Regions from separate parts of the Homo sapiens genome. Here regions 1 and 2 are each linked to region 3. The links are contacts of gene promoters, found by promoter capture Hi-C in blood cells and fetal thymus (Javierre and others, 2016). All regions are on one chromosome and are shown on one strand. The core of a region is centred on a gene start or on the middle of the fragment in contact, and the rest is flanking DNA. Distances in the headings are between cores, read along the strand shown. Region 1 holds the start of CLCNKB (chloride voltage-gated channel Kb). Region 2 overlaps SZRD1 (SUZ RNA binding domain containing 1). Region 3 holds the start of CPLANE2 (ciliogenesis and planar polarity effector complex subunit 2).

Region 1 (3,990 bases), core at 360-2,859, 190 kb before region 3:
GCCCCCGCTACTGCTGCCAGGCGACTAATATGGAAGGGGAGAAATTAGGGCTGATGTGGAGGCAGTGGGTTTGGGAGGGACCTGCATTGGGTCCTGCGCCCCCTGGCTGCCCTCTTCTCAGCCTCCTGGGGCACACAGGGCTGGGGGGTGAGGGTGGATGTGGACATGCAGTGCCGGCTGTGGGACAGTAGCCAGCAGCTGCCCCAGACCAGACACTGGGGATCCGGATGTTGACAGGGCAGCCAGTTCTGGTGCTGTGCAGAGTCAACAGGTCAGGGTGGCCAAGATGAAGGTGGGCTCGGGTTCATGCAGAGCGGCAACCCCCATCCCACCTCCCACAACACACACCTTCAATTTTGATTTGACTTGCCTGGCATCTAGGGGCAAAGGGTGGCCCAGGGTCCCAGATTTTAACAATCATCCAAGGGCCATCATGTTATTCAGAGAGTGGCTTTGTCTGGGTAGGACTGGAGGCAATTGCCCCCAACATCTTGCCCCAAAGTGGCATCAGACACAACTCTTCTGTTCTGTGCCCAAACCATTGCCCTGGTTCAGCCTCAGGAGCTGGAGGAGCTTTGGGCAGGGGAAGAGCTGCACAGTGTGGGGCTGGGTTCAGCCTCTGCTGTGTGACCTTGGATGAGTGACTCACCTCTCTGACCATCTACAAAATGGCGAGGCTCTCCCCATTCACAGGGTGTGGGGAGGAGGACTTGAGCTGCGGATGTGACGCTTCTGACACGTTGCAGGCACACGGCACGTGCTTGTTCCTCGCCATGTCCCCTCACACCTGTGCTGCCATCCTCTGTTGGGGTGGGACAAACTCTGTGGAATTACCCAGAAGTCCCCACCAGAGCCGCTGGCCCTTGGACGTGTGCTTTGAGAGGCATTTCCTGAGCCTGGAGGGTCTGGACACAGGATCAAGTCTGAGTTCCTGACCCCAATTCACTGCCTTGCCCCAGGTGTCGGCCTCCTCGCCAGCCCTGGACAAGATGGGTCATCAGGATGGGACCGTGTGGCACAGCCTGCGGGCTTTGGAGCCAGGCAAACCTGGGCTGGGAATCCTGGCGCTGCCTCGGCCTCCGTGATCTTAGACGGGCAGCCCCACCTCCCTGAGACACCATTTCTCTACAACGGGATCACGCTGCCTGCCTCGTGGGATTTCCGTGGGCACTCAGGGTAATTAATCTAGGGGAAGGCTGACTCTCTACCTGGCACACAGGGAGGCTGTGGTCATGCTGGCCCCACTCACCTTTGCCGGCCTGCTTTCTCCTTCTCTGCCCAGCCTCCTCCCCTCTCCCTCTGTGCTTTTCCAAACCTTCCATGTCCAGCTCTGAGACCCCTGGACCCTGAGCCTCAGCCTTGGCAGATGACCCCTCTCTGTCCTGCTGTGTGCGTGAGCTCCCCCTTCCCAGCCCCCGTCCAGCAGCACCCAGGAGCCTGAGTACAGCTGGGCACCACCCTCTGTGCAGCTATGGTGGGTGGGGAGGCTCCTGTTCCCCTCCCTGTTGGCAGCTCTGCTCTGCTCTGCTCCGGCCTGGGCAGTTCTGATCGGTTTTCAAGGACATTCTAAGTGTTCGCCATAAACCCTGGGCCCAGGCGGGAAAGGGGGGAGGATGTTGATTGTTGGAACACACACCTGTCCAGGTGCAGGGGAGCTGGAGGCTCTGTGAGAGGAGGGCCAGCTCAGCCACAGCAGGAGGACTGACAGGTGAGGGGTCGCTGCAAGATGCTGGGGCCTGCCAGGGCCAGACAGGCAGGGCGGGGGGGGGGGGGTGGTAAGGGCAGGAGCCAGCACCTCACTTTGGCCCTGGTGGGATCTTCTTCTGGGCCTGGGGTTTTGCTGCCTCTGTGGCCTGAGCTGGGGTCAGGGGTGCTCATAGGTGGACAGGGAGAGTCAGAGCCATCCATGGGACTCTGCAGTGAGAGTGTCACAGCCCTGGGCAGAGACTGCTCCCAGCAGTGGAAGCGCCAAGTGACCCAGGAGGGTGGGAGCGGCTGCCACCGAAGGGGAAGGGGCTCTGAGCAGGGCTTGGGCTCCGGCCTGTGCCCAGTCTGCTGCTGGACACAGGGGGACACCTAGGAATCCCACCCCCATCCCACACAATGACACACACAGGCACACACCCTCAGTGACGGAAACTCAGGGATGAAGGCACACACAGACCTAGTGTGATAACTTCACATACACACACACACACACACACACGCACAATCTTTCCTCTTCATGGGTGGGGAGAGCACTGGAAGGGCCTAGAGGCAGTGCGAGGACGTGCAGCAGCTCACCGCGGTCCCTCCCTCTATCCGCTTCTCCAGGGGCCTGATGGAGGAGTTTGTGGGGCTGCGTGAAGGCTCCTCAGGGAACCCTGTGACTCTGCAGGAGCTGTGGGGCCCCTGTCCCCGCATCCGCCGAGGCATCCGAGGTGAGAGCCAGGTCCTCTTCCCTTCCCCCTGGAGGACCACTCAGGACATCATTCCTGCCCAGCTCCCACCCCACCTCCCTGCCCAGGAACCACCCTCCTCCTGGCATTTGTCCAGGACATGACTGCCCAAAGTCTCCTGGGTGGCAGGGAGGGAAGGGGTCTGTCTGTCCAGCTGTCTGTGGGTCAGATGGGCCGGGCATCTGCCCTCTGCCTTTCGGGAGATACAGCCCAAGGCCTGGTCACTGTGCCCATCTTCCACCCAGGCCTCTCCCTCACCTACCTGTGCCAATGAGGGGACGTGGGGGTTAGCTGCTGGGACAGCTGGGGCCACAGCAAGGGGCTGGGGCAGCCTACACTTGGCACCTTTCCTTGGAGCCCCATGTGCTTTGTTCACTTTGAGACCTGACTGTCCCCTCAGCTACGGGGCAGAGCAAGTAGGGACCACAGAAGGAGGCTGACTGCAACCCCAGGGGCTGGTGCCCACAGCCAGTGAGGGCCAGCTCCCAGGCTGGGCTAGCAGCCAGTGGGCCAGGAGCATTGCTGGGGACCCAGAGGATACCTGGCGCCACAGGTCCTGGGACACGCAGGAGTCTGCTAGATCCTGGTGCTCTCTAAGCTATGGACTCTGCGGGGATGCAGGTGAAAGCTGTAGCTGCCAGCCCCCTCCATACTCCCTGTCCCCCAGGAACCTCCCAGTACAGGCAGGGATGCGGAGGGTCGGCAGGTCAACGGCTTTCTGGTAGGGGCAGCAGTCCTGGCACCCACTGTGTCACCACTGTCACCTCCCACAAATCCTGCCCGGCCACTTATGTGAGGCAGGGCCCCCTCGGGACTACCCCAGAGTATACCACCAAGCTCCATCCCCCTGCCCCAGCCTCTCTGCCTGAAGCCCAGCAGGCCTCCAAGGATGGGACTGTCTGTGCCTCCTGCCCCACCCTGTGCCGTGACCCCATGCCCTGCCCCAGGTGGCCTGGAGTGGCTGAAGCAGAAGCTCTTCCGCCTGGGCGAGGACTGGTACTTCCTGATGACCCTCGGGGTGCTCATGGCCCTGGTCAGCTGTGCCATGGACTTGGCTGTTGAGAGTGTGGTCCGAGGTAACCCCTCCATGGCAGGTGCTGCTCTGGGCCAAGGGATTCTGAGCTCTCTCTGGGGATGCCAGGTGGATGTCGCCAGGTGCAGCGGAGGTTGGGGGGGGTGCTCTGGGTGGGGATCTGGTCCTGGCTTTACTCCTGACTTGCTCTGTGATCCTGGGCAGGCTCCTGCCCCTCTCTGGGCCTCAGTCATCTCATTTGCACAAGGGAGAGAGGCCTGAATGTTCCCAAGAGCTCTTCCTCCTCTGAGCTCTCTGCCTCCTCTTCCAGCCACCCTGTTTCTTCTCCTTCCCTCCTCCATGCCCTGGGGCAGAGTGGGGGCACTTCCCTATAACACTAAGCTTGGTGCTTCCTCCCCATCCCACCCCATCCCTCAGCAGCCTGCCTCCACCCTGAGGCCTCCCTGGAAGAGGGGGTGTGGGCAGGAAGGGTCTAAGACACTTTCTCTGGAGACCCTCAGCTGCCAGAAGCAGCACCTA
Region 2 (4,263 bases), core at 1,621-4,120, 150 kb after region 3:
AAATGTTGGGATTACAGGCATAAGCCACTGTCACTGTGCCTGGCCAATAATTCTTAATTCTTTACCTGGTCAGTAGATCAAATGAGTCAGTAAGAATTTACAAGATTAGAACAATATAGCTAACCAGCTTGAACTTTGAACTGCACCCATCAACTGGAGAATAGTTATTTCCTTTTTTTTTTTTTTTTTTTTTGAGACAGAGTCTCGCTCTGTCGCCCAGGCTGGAGTGCAGTGGCACGATCTCAGCTCACTGCAAGCTCCACCTCCCAGGTTCACGCCATCCTCCTGCCTCAGCCTCCCGAGTAGCTGGGACTACAGGCACCCACCACCACGCCCGGCTAATTTTTTGTATTTTTTTGAGGGGGGGTGGGGGGGGGGCAGAGTCTTGCTCTGTCGCCCAGGCTGGAGTGCAGTGGCGCCATCTCGGCTCACTGCAAGCTTCGCCTCCCGGGTTCACGCCATTCTCCTGCCTCAGCCTTCTGAGTAGCTGGGACTACAGGCGTCCTGCCTCAGCCTTCTGAGTAGCTGGGACTACAGGCGCCCGCCACAACGCCTGGCTAATTTTTTTTTTTTTTGTATGTTTAGTAGAGATGGGGTTTCCACTGTGTTAGCCAGGATGGTCTCGATCTCCTGACCTCGTGATCCGCCCACCTCGGCCTCCCAAAGTGCTGGCATTGCAGGCGTGAGCCACCGTGCCTGGCCAATTTTTTGTATTTTTATTAGAGACGGGGTTTCACCGCGTTAGCCAGGATGGTCTCAATCTCCTGCCCTCGTGATCCGCCCGCCTCGGCCTCCCAAAGTGCTGGGATTATAGGCGTGAGCCACCGCGCTGGGCTGAGAATAGTTATTTTCAGAACATACAGAGCACTTACGAAAATGGCCTACATGCTGAGCCATGGGGCAGATCTCACCAAATTTCAAAGTCTCCACACTACGGCTGTGGTTCTTCACATTTTGCAAGTGATGGACTTCTTTGAAAATCCCAGTCTAATAAATTAAGGTTGCCCAGACTTAGCACTGTTGACTTTTGGGGTTAAATAGTTCTTTGTGTGGGGCTGTCCTGTACACTGTAGGACATTTAGCATTTCCCCAATAGTGGCAACCAAAAATGGCTTGACATTGTCCAGTGTCCCCTGAGGGACAGAATCTTATCTGGTTGAGAACCACCATTAGAGATCTTGTCTCTAGAAAAACACAGAATTTTGCATACAGTTTCTTCCATCTCCATTAGAGCTAGTTGATCTTGTCCTCACTGAGGATGGCTGAGGGAGTGGGACTTTTTCTAAGAAAGGCCGTAGGGCAGCCAAGCAGCCTGGGGGTTTGGTCTTTGTTCTGTGCACGGCCTCTCCCCACACCCCTGTCCTGGATATAGATGCTCACACGCGTGTGTGGAGGTGTCATAGGCATGCTGGTGCTGATGGGCTGAGGGCTCAGACTGCCATGAGCCCAATGTCCTGCTCAGGGCTTGAAGAGATGAGGCCAGGGCGTGTTGGAAGGCAGTCCTGCCTGCTCCTCCTTCTCAGCCTCTTTCTTCTCTCTGCTTTTCTCTAAAATGGTGGTGTTGTTTTAATCAAGACCTGTCAGGCTCTGGTTCTGAGAGAAATACTTGCTGCACTCTCAGGTGTCTTGTCTCTTCCTCAGGTTCCCCATGTTCACTTGTAGACCATGGACCTCCAAAGCCACAAACATAAGGCATAGGTTTTACTCTAAGCCTTTCGGTAGGTGCCAGTCACAGAGAGTTCAAGTCCGTAACAGTAAAAAATACATTATTAAAATATTAGATATGACCATAAAGGAATGTAAAAGGGAGAGTTTATTCTGAGGACCAGGTGATGCACCATGCTGGTGGGATCAGAGGAGACTTTATAAAGGAGAGGTAGACATCCAGGCTGGGTTGTGCAGGATCAATGGGAGTTTGCAAGGGGAGGGGACATTGCAGGCAGGTGGAACAGCATGCTGAGTTCTGGGGGCTAGTGATAGCAAAACAGAGACAGAAGGTAAAAGAAGGTATGGGTGAGGCATGCTCAGAAGCTTTGACTAGGTCTGCAAGCAGTTGAAGGGTTTAAAGTAGGGAAGTGACATGATCAGATTTATGTTTAATTTTTTTTCCAACTCTTTATTTCATAAAATAGAGTAAGTGTTCCTAAGTTTAGGTTTAGAAGTTGATATGAGTGGCTCTGTGAAAGACAGATTACAGGTCAGAAAACTGGTTGGAGGCTATGCAAAGAACCCAGCTGAACAATGAGGTTTAGAACTGTCATGGCGGCCATGGGGCTAGAAGGGAGATGGACCTGCAGAGGGTATCAGGTCCCCAAACCCCAAAATCTAGTCCACATTTGTTATGTTGAAGGACACAGTCATGTCCCTGGCTAGAGAAAGGACACTGCCCTTAGCTCCAAAAATAAAGACTAAGTTTTTATTTGAGAGAGATTTTTTCCTCTTTTTATATACATTTTTTTCCTCTAGGAAATAGACAGACGGTTGGAAAAAAAACTGAAGATCACACAAAAAGAGAGGTAAGGCTGCTGTCTGGTCTGAGGGCTCATGCTCTCTGTGGTTTGAGAGCCGGGCAGTCAGTGGTGTTCTCCAGCTGGCCATTAGGATTAGCAGGTCCTAGCAGGTCAGGCTCTGGGGCAGCAAACCCTTCCCTCCAAATTGGAGACCAGGACGTGGTGGCTTGAGGCTTTAGGGTTGAGGCTGGGGTGTTGCACCTGCCTCTGACCTTCGTGGGCTCCCTGTGTGAGGTCATCTGATGCAATGTGAGGAAGTGACAAGTTGGAAGACTTGAGTTTTAGGCCTGGCAGTGCCCCAGTTGCTCTGAGGTCTGGGGCAAGTCATTTCCCAGATCTGGACATCAGTTTCTTTCTCTGTGGCATGAGGAGTGTGGGCAGATGATTTCTCTGGGTCCCCAGTGACTTGGTGGTCTAGGGTATTATGAGGGTATCCTGGAAGAAAACATTCTAGGAAATTCTTGAAAAAACCTTTAAAAATAGCTTTGTTTTCCACCTAGACGACAGAGGAGGGTGTTTCCAGAGTAGGTGAAAGTTGACTTCGGCTTTCTGCTTTTGGGCTTAGGGAACCTGTTGGTTTTCCATAGGTACAAGGGACAGGAAGGAGGATAGGGCCCCTCTGGATTTGCTCACGGGGCTGCACAGTCATTCCCCAGGAAACTCTGGGTGCTCTGCCCGCCCGCTAGTTTTCCTGGCTCCCTGCCTCTTTGATCAGATTGCTGGCTCCTTGTCTGTCTGCTCATCTCAGCAACCACGCTAACCCTGGGTTACAGTCCTCGTTCCATACCATTTGTGTCCTACCCGAGACTTGTTTCCATCCACCCTGGCTCAGTTCCTCCAATCCCGACTCCTCCTGACAGCCAAGGCTCTGGAAGCAGGCTTGTTTGGTTCTGAAGAGAAGCTGGTTGACTGCTCTGGGTAGGGTCCTGGTGGCTGTTGTCGGGTGGTCATTCCTGCCTGGGTTCCTGTCTCCTCCTGTGGCTTTTGTTTCTTTCCCTTCCTGTGTTGTTGTCCCTCTTTGTTTTTTGTCATTCCACCTCTCCCTGTGGACACATCGCCTTGATGTACGCGTCCACCAGCCTTGGACAATGCTTTTCTTTTGAGCATTGCCAAGCACTGTTTCTAGGAGCATCCTTCACTCCAGCCCCGCCGCTGTCCAAAAGACCAGGGAGCCCTGGCAAGGGAGGTTTCTCTGTTCAGAAGCTTTTTGAAGAGGATTCAGTTGTCTGGTGTAGCTTGTCTCTGGGAGGCACAGGTCACTCTCACTAGAAGGTGGCTTGGTAAATCTTGATGCCAGGCAGGGATGGCGTAGTGGGCTCCTTTGTAGTGTTTGTCTGGTTTGAGCATGTGATGGAAGATTTGGCTGAGTGAACACTGCTGACCCCCAAGTTCAAAGGCTCCCACCCCACCAGCCAGTCCTACTCTGATCTGCGTAGAGAAGCTGGGATCTTAACTGACGTCATTCAATTCTGGACATAAACTGTTTTGCTGCAGGGCCAAATAGTGGTTGATGTGGCTGTGGTGAACATGGGGATAGAAGTGCCAGAATGAGGTGGCGTTCCAGCCCCTGTGGCCAGGGGTTAGGGCTGAGGAGCAGTTCCTGTGGCCTGTCAGAGCTGGTCGCAAGCTTACTTTTTTGGGACACCCTTCTTGAGGAGTGGAAATTTTGCTGTCTGGTCAGAGGCCAGAGAATCATGCATGGGTAGAATTAGGGAGGGAGAGGAAAGTGATGAGAGGTGGGTGTGGGACATGG
Region 3 (4,167 bases), core at 496-2,995:
CAGAACCTGCTTGGTATGTTACAAACACCCTCCTTATTAATTTCCCCAGTAACTCTATGGGGTAAATACTGTGATTATCCCCATTTTACAGAGGTGGGACTTGAGGCTAGAGTTCACTTATTCCCAGCCATACAGCTAGCAGTGGTGGAGCCTGGGTCACTTGCCTGGGTATGTGTGACCCCAAATACAGTGTTGCCAGCCATCATGGGATTAGAGGGACAGTGGCCATATTAGAGGGTCTTTTTTTTTTTTTTTTTTTTGAGACGGAGTTTCACTCTTGTCACCCAGGATGGAATGCAATGGCTCGATCTAGGGTTGCTGCAACCTCTGCCTTCTGTGTTCAAGCGATTCTCCTGCCTCAGCCTCCCAAGTAGCTGGGATTACAGGTGCCCGCCACCACGTCCGGCTAATTTTTGTATTTTTAGTAAAGATGGGGTTTCGCCATGTTGGCCAGGCTGGTCTTGAACTCCTGACCTCAGGTGATTTGCCCACCTCGGCCTCCCAAAGTGCTGGGATTACAGGCCACTGCGCCCAGCCTTCTAGAGGGTCATTTTTTGAATTTAATATAATTTCTTTTAAAAAAACAAACAAACAGTTGACTTATTCACAAATTTTGGTTCTAGCTATCTCACTCTCTGGTCTTAAGTCTTCTGGCACCTTGCTTCTCCTGGCCAGAGCTGGGCTCCACAGCTGATTCCAGGCACCTCTGCCGGCCTGACAGCTGGGCCCTGCCTGGGTGAGTCAGTTTCACCATGGGGAACACCAGCGTCTCATCCCAGAGACAGCAGGACATGGAAGAGGCTCACCTCTATTTATTGGGGTGTGATCTTAGCCAAGTCTGTACCATGTGCTGTTGAGAGGTTAAATGGGCGTGCACTGTGTAACGTGCCCAACAGAGGGCCTGGCACCAGGGGAGTGCTCAATCAACTGCATCTCTGGTGACAGTGGTTGCTGGCAAGGTTTCTGCTGTTTCCATGTTCCTGGCTCTGACGATGGAATTAGCTCTAAGGAGATTTAGGTGTGGGGGTCCCAGAGCTAGGGCTTTCAGTCCCCCAGGCTGAAGACTGCTGAAGACTGCAGTGGAGCAGGCCCTCACTGCCCTGCCTCTCTGCTCTCCTCAGGGAGCAACAGGTGACACTCTTCTCCCCAGGGAAAGACAAGTGGCGGGCTAGAGGAAAGGGGGAGGCACTTACCAAACACCCGCCGGCGGTTCTTGCGCAGAATGCAAGCCAGGTACTCCTTGCCCTCGGCACTCTCGTGCCAGTTTGGGACAACCACCGAACCGGGCACGGGAGGTCTGGCCATGGCTGGGCACCGCGACGGGGTAGGGAGGTGACAGAATGCTGAGAGCAGGGAGTGGGAAGGGGAGTGACAGTACCAAGCCGGGCCTGTGATCCCTCTTAACTGCCCTCTGACTCTCCCGGGGGGCCCCAGAAAGTGCAGTCCCTCAGCCGCCTCTCTCCTTCGCAATGCTCCCTGGGGATAGTCATCCCATTACTGCCCATGGAGGGTATTCACACAGCCCCTCTCCCCTTGTCACCTCCGGGGGTCAGACAGCCCCGCTTCTCCTCTACCTTCTAGATCCCGACTCCCAGGGCTACCTAGCCCTCCCCGTCAGCAGTCCCGGCGGCGAACCGACCTGGGTGCCGAAGGCCCCTTTAAACGCCCACCCGCACTCCCGCCGCCCCAGCCCGCCGGGCCCACTTCCGCCCCGCCTGCGTCCGCCTTCTGCGCGTGCTGGCAGCTCCGGCGCAGGTGCGCGCGGCGCATGTGCGGAGGTTGTTGCCATGGAGACGCCGGAGGTTGGGTTGGGCGGGTTCCGGGAGGCGTTCGTCCCTCCTACAACGTCCGCAGCCTGCGCCGCGCGGTGGCTCTGGACTAGGCCTTTTCCTCTGGGTTGTGGATCCTCTTCTCTATGACTCCGTCCGATCCCTAGTCTTTCTTCCAAAACATCATGAAACCCCCCCTCCAGGAGCCTTTCATGCTTCTCTGTGTCTCAGTTTCCTCTTCTATAACGTGGACGTAACATGTTATTCCCTCCATAGCAGTGCTCCATATGTTTAGTTATGATTGTTGCTATTATTAATATTATTGCTCTATTAATCCTGCTTGGCAGGACCTCTAGATGACTTAAACATCTCTGGCTTCACTGATGGGGACACACACCAGCTCAGAGAGGTCAAGGGACTTGGCTCAAGTTTTAAAAAATGAGTCAGAGGCCCGCTGGATTGTATTTTTCATTCATTCATTCATTCAACAAATACTGAGCACCTAGCTGGGAATACAGTGGCCAACAAGAAGTCCCTGCTCTCCTGGAGCTGACTTTTCAGCTCTGAAACTCTGAGCTCCTCTCCACCGTTCCAGCACTGGACACCAGGCCTGTTACCCAGAAGGTGGGTGCTCAGTAAATGCCCACTGGTTGGAAAGAGTGCAGGTGGGTCATTACTGAGAGTTTGTCTATTACATTTAATTTTTACCATTATCTTTCCGCAATGCCTTCAAGTAGGGCAAATCACTGTTTTGAAAGGAATAATTTAGGAGTTAAGCTTTACCTAAGGCCACCCAAGTGCCAGACAGTGGGGACTTTACAGGGGTCACCTGATTTAATTCTATAAACAAACCTGTGTAAATAGTATTACCCTCTTGTACTGACGAAGACTCTCAGAAACATAACGTGACTTGTCTGAGGTCACACCGCACAGCTAGTCAGTGTGAAACCGACTCAGAACCCACAGCTGGCTGGGTGTGGTGGCTCACGCCTGTAATCCCAGCACTTTGGGAAGCTGAGGCGGGCAGATTGCTTAAGCTCAGGAGTTTGAGACCAACCTGGGCAACATAGTAAGACCCTGCCTCTACAAAAAAAAAAATACAAAAATTAGCCGGGCACAGTAGTGCACGCCTGTAGTCCCAGCTACTTGGAGGCTGAGATGAGAGGATTGCTTGAGCCCGGGAAATGGAGGTTGCAGTGAGCCGAGATCATGCCACTGCACTTCAGCCTGAGTGACAGAGCTAGGCCCTGTCAAAAAAAAAAAAAAAAAAAAAAAAAGAACCCACACTTACCTGACTCTAAAGTACTTATCTGTTCTGCCAGTTTGGGTTTTGTGTTTTTAAAACTTTGCCCCTAGCCACTAGGAGGGCTGTTCCTAGGGAAGCAGAAAGCAGCCAGAGGACTACGAACTCACAGATTTTTAAGGCCCATTATGTCTAAGAGAGGGGATGAGGATGTGTAAGACAAGGTGCTTTCTCTCAACTTGCTCACGCTGTGGCTAGGCAGAAAAACCAGATGAATAACCATTCCTACAGGATTCTGCAGGTGGAATCCTTTGCCCATACTCCCAGGTCACATGGTTCCCATTCCTGCAGCTGTCACATCTGCCCAGTCAGGGAGATTCACAGCTGTCCAGAGCTCTCTCCATGGGCCAGGAGTCACTCAGTGGCAGGGCTCTGATCTGAATTATTTCTGGATTTCCAGACTTCACATCCACCCATCTTTGGCTCGTGGAGGGCTCAGTGAGCGTGTGAGAAAATGAAGCAACTTGGCAGAATGAACGTGCCTGTTAATCTGCAACCCAGAGAAGATGTAAAGTCCTCTTGGGGCCATGTGCGGTGGCTCACGCCTGTAATCCCAGCACTTTGGGAGGCTGAAGCTGGTGGACCACTTGAGGTCAGGAGTTTGAGACCAGCCTGGGTAACATGGCAAAACCTTATCCCTAAAAATATACAAAAAAATGGCTGGGCGCGGTGGCTCACGCCTGTAATCCCAGCACTTTGGGAGGCTGAGGCGGGCAAATCACCCGAGGTCAGGAGTTCAAGACCAGCCTGGCCAACATGGTGAACCCTGTCTCTACTAAAAATACAAAAATTATCTGGCTGTGATGGCAGGCGCCTGTAATCCCAGCTACTCTGGAGGTTGAGGCAGAAGAATCGCTTGAACCTGGGAGGTGGAGGTTGCAGTGAGCAGAATCATATCACTGCACTCCAGCCTGGGTGACAGAGCTGAATAAATAAAATTATGTATTCAGTGGAAGGCTGATCAAGGACTCAAAAGAATGCAATCTTTTGTCTCCTATCTACTTTTTTTTTTTTTGAGACAGAGTCTCACTCTGTCGCCCAGGCTGGAGTGCAGTGGCACAATCTCGGCTCACTGCAACCTCTGCCTCTGAGGTT

The links. The method cuts DNA at HindIII sites, captures the fragments that hold promoters and counts their contacts. A CHiCAGO score of 5 or more calls a contact.
Region 1: a contact is called between the fragment with the promoter of CLCNKB here and the fragment with the promoter of CPLANE2 in region 3, in 16 of 17 cell types (erythroblasts, M0 macrophages, fetal thymus and 13 more). The highest score is 13.9, in erythroblasts.
Region 2: a fragment that was not itself captured here is called in contact with the fragment with the promoter of CPLANE2 in region 3 in 1 of 17 cell types (endothelial precursors); the score reaches 5.2 in endothelial precursors.

What each region holds. Positions count from the first base shown.
Region 1 is chr1:16,042,173-16,046,162 of GRCh38, forward strand. CLCNKB (chloride voltage-gated channel Kb) reads left to right here and starts at 1,610. Exons shown (of 20, transcript NM_000085.5): 1 at 1,610-1,708; 2 at 2,314-2,420; 3 at 3,386-3,514. The coding sequence starts at 2,321. The HindIII fragment of the contact is 13,884 bases long and covers 1-3,850 here.
Region 2 is chr1:16,388,909-16,393,171 of GRCh38, forward strand. It overlaps SZRD1 (SUZ RNA binding domain containing 1), which reads left to right. Exons shown (of 4, transcript NM_001114600.3): 2 at 2,467-2,516. Among named protein-coding and RNA genes, the nearest start is that of SZRD1, 24 kb to the left of the region's middle. RefSeq lists an enhancer at 4,110-4,263. The HindIII fragment of the contact is 1,682 bases long and covers 2,030-3,711 here.
Region 3 is chr1:16,235,438-16,239,604 of GRCh38, forward strand. CPLANE2 (ciliogenesis and planar polarity effector complex subunit 2) reads right to left here and starts at 1,746. Exons shown (of 5, transcript NM_030907.4): 1 at 1,194-1,746. The coding sequence starts at 1,305. RefSeq lists an enhancer at 1,239-1,783 and a silencer at 1,624-1,803. The HindIII fragment of the contact is 3,895 bases long and covers 1-2,544 here.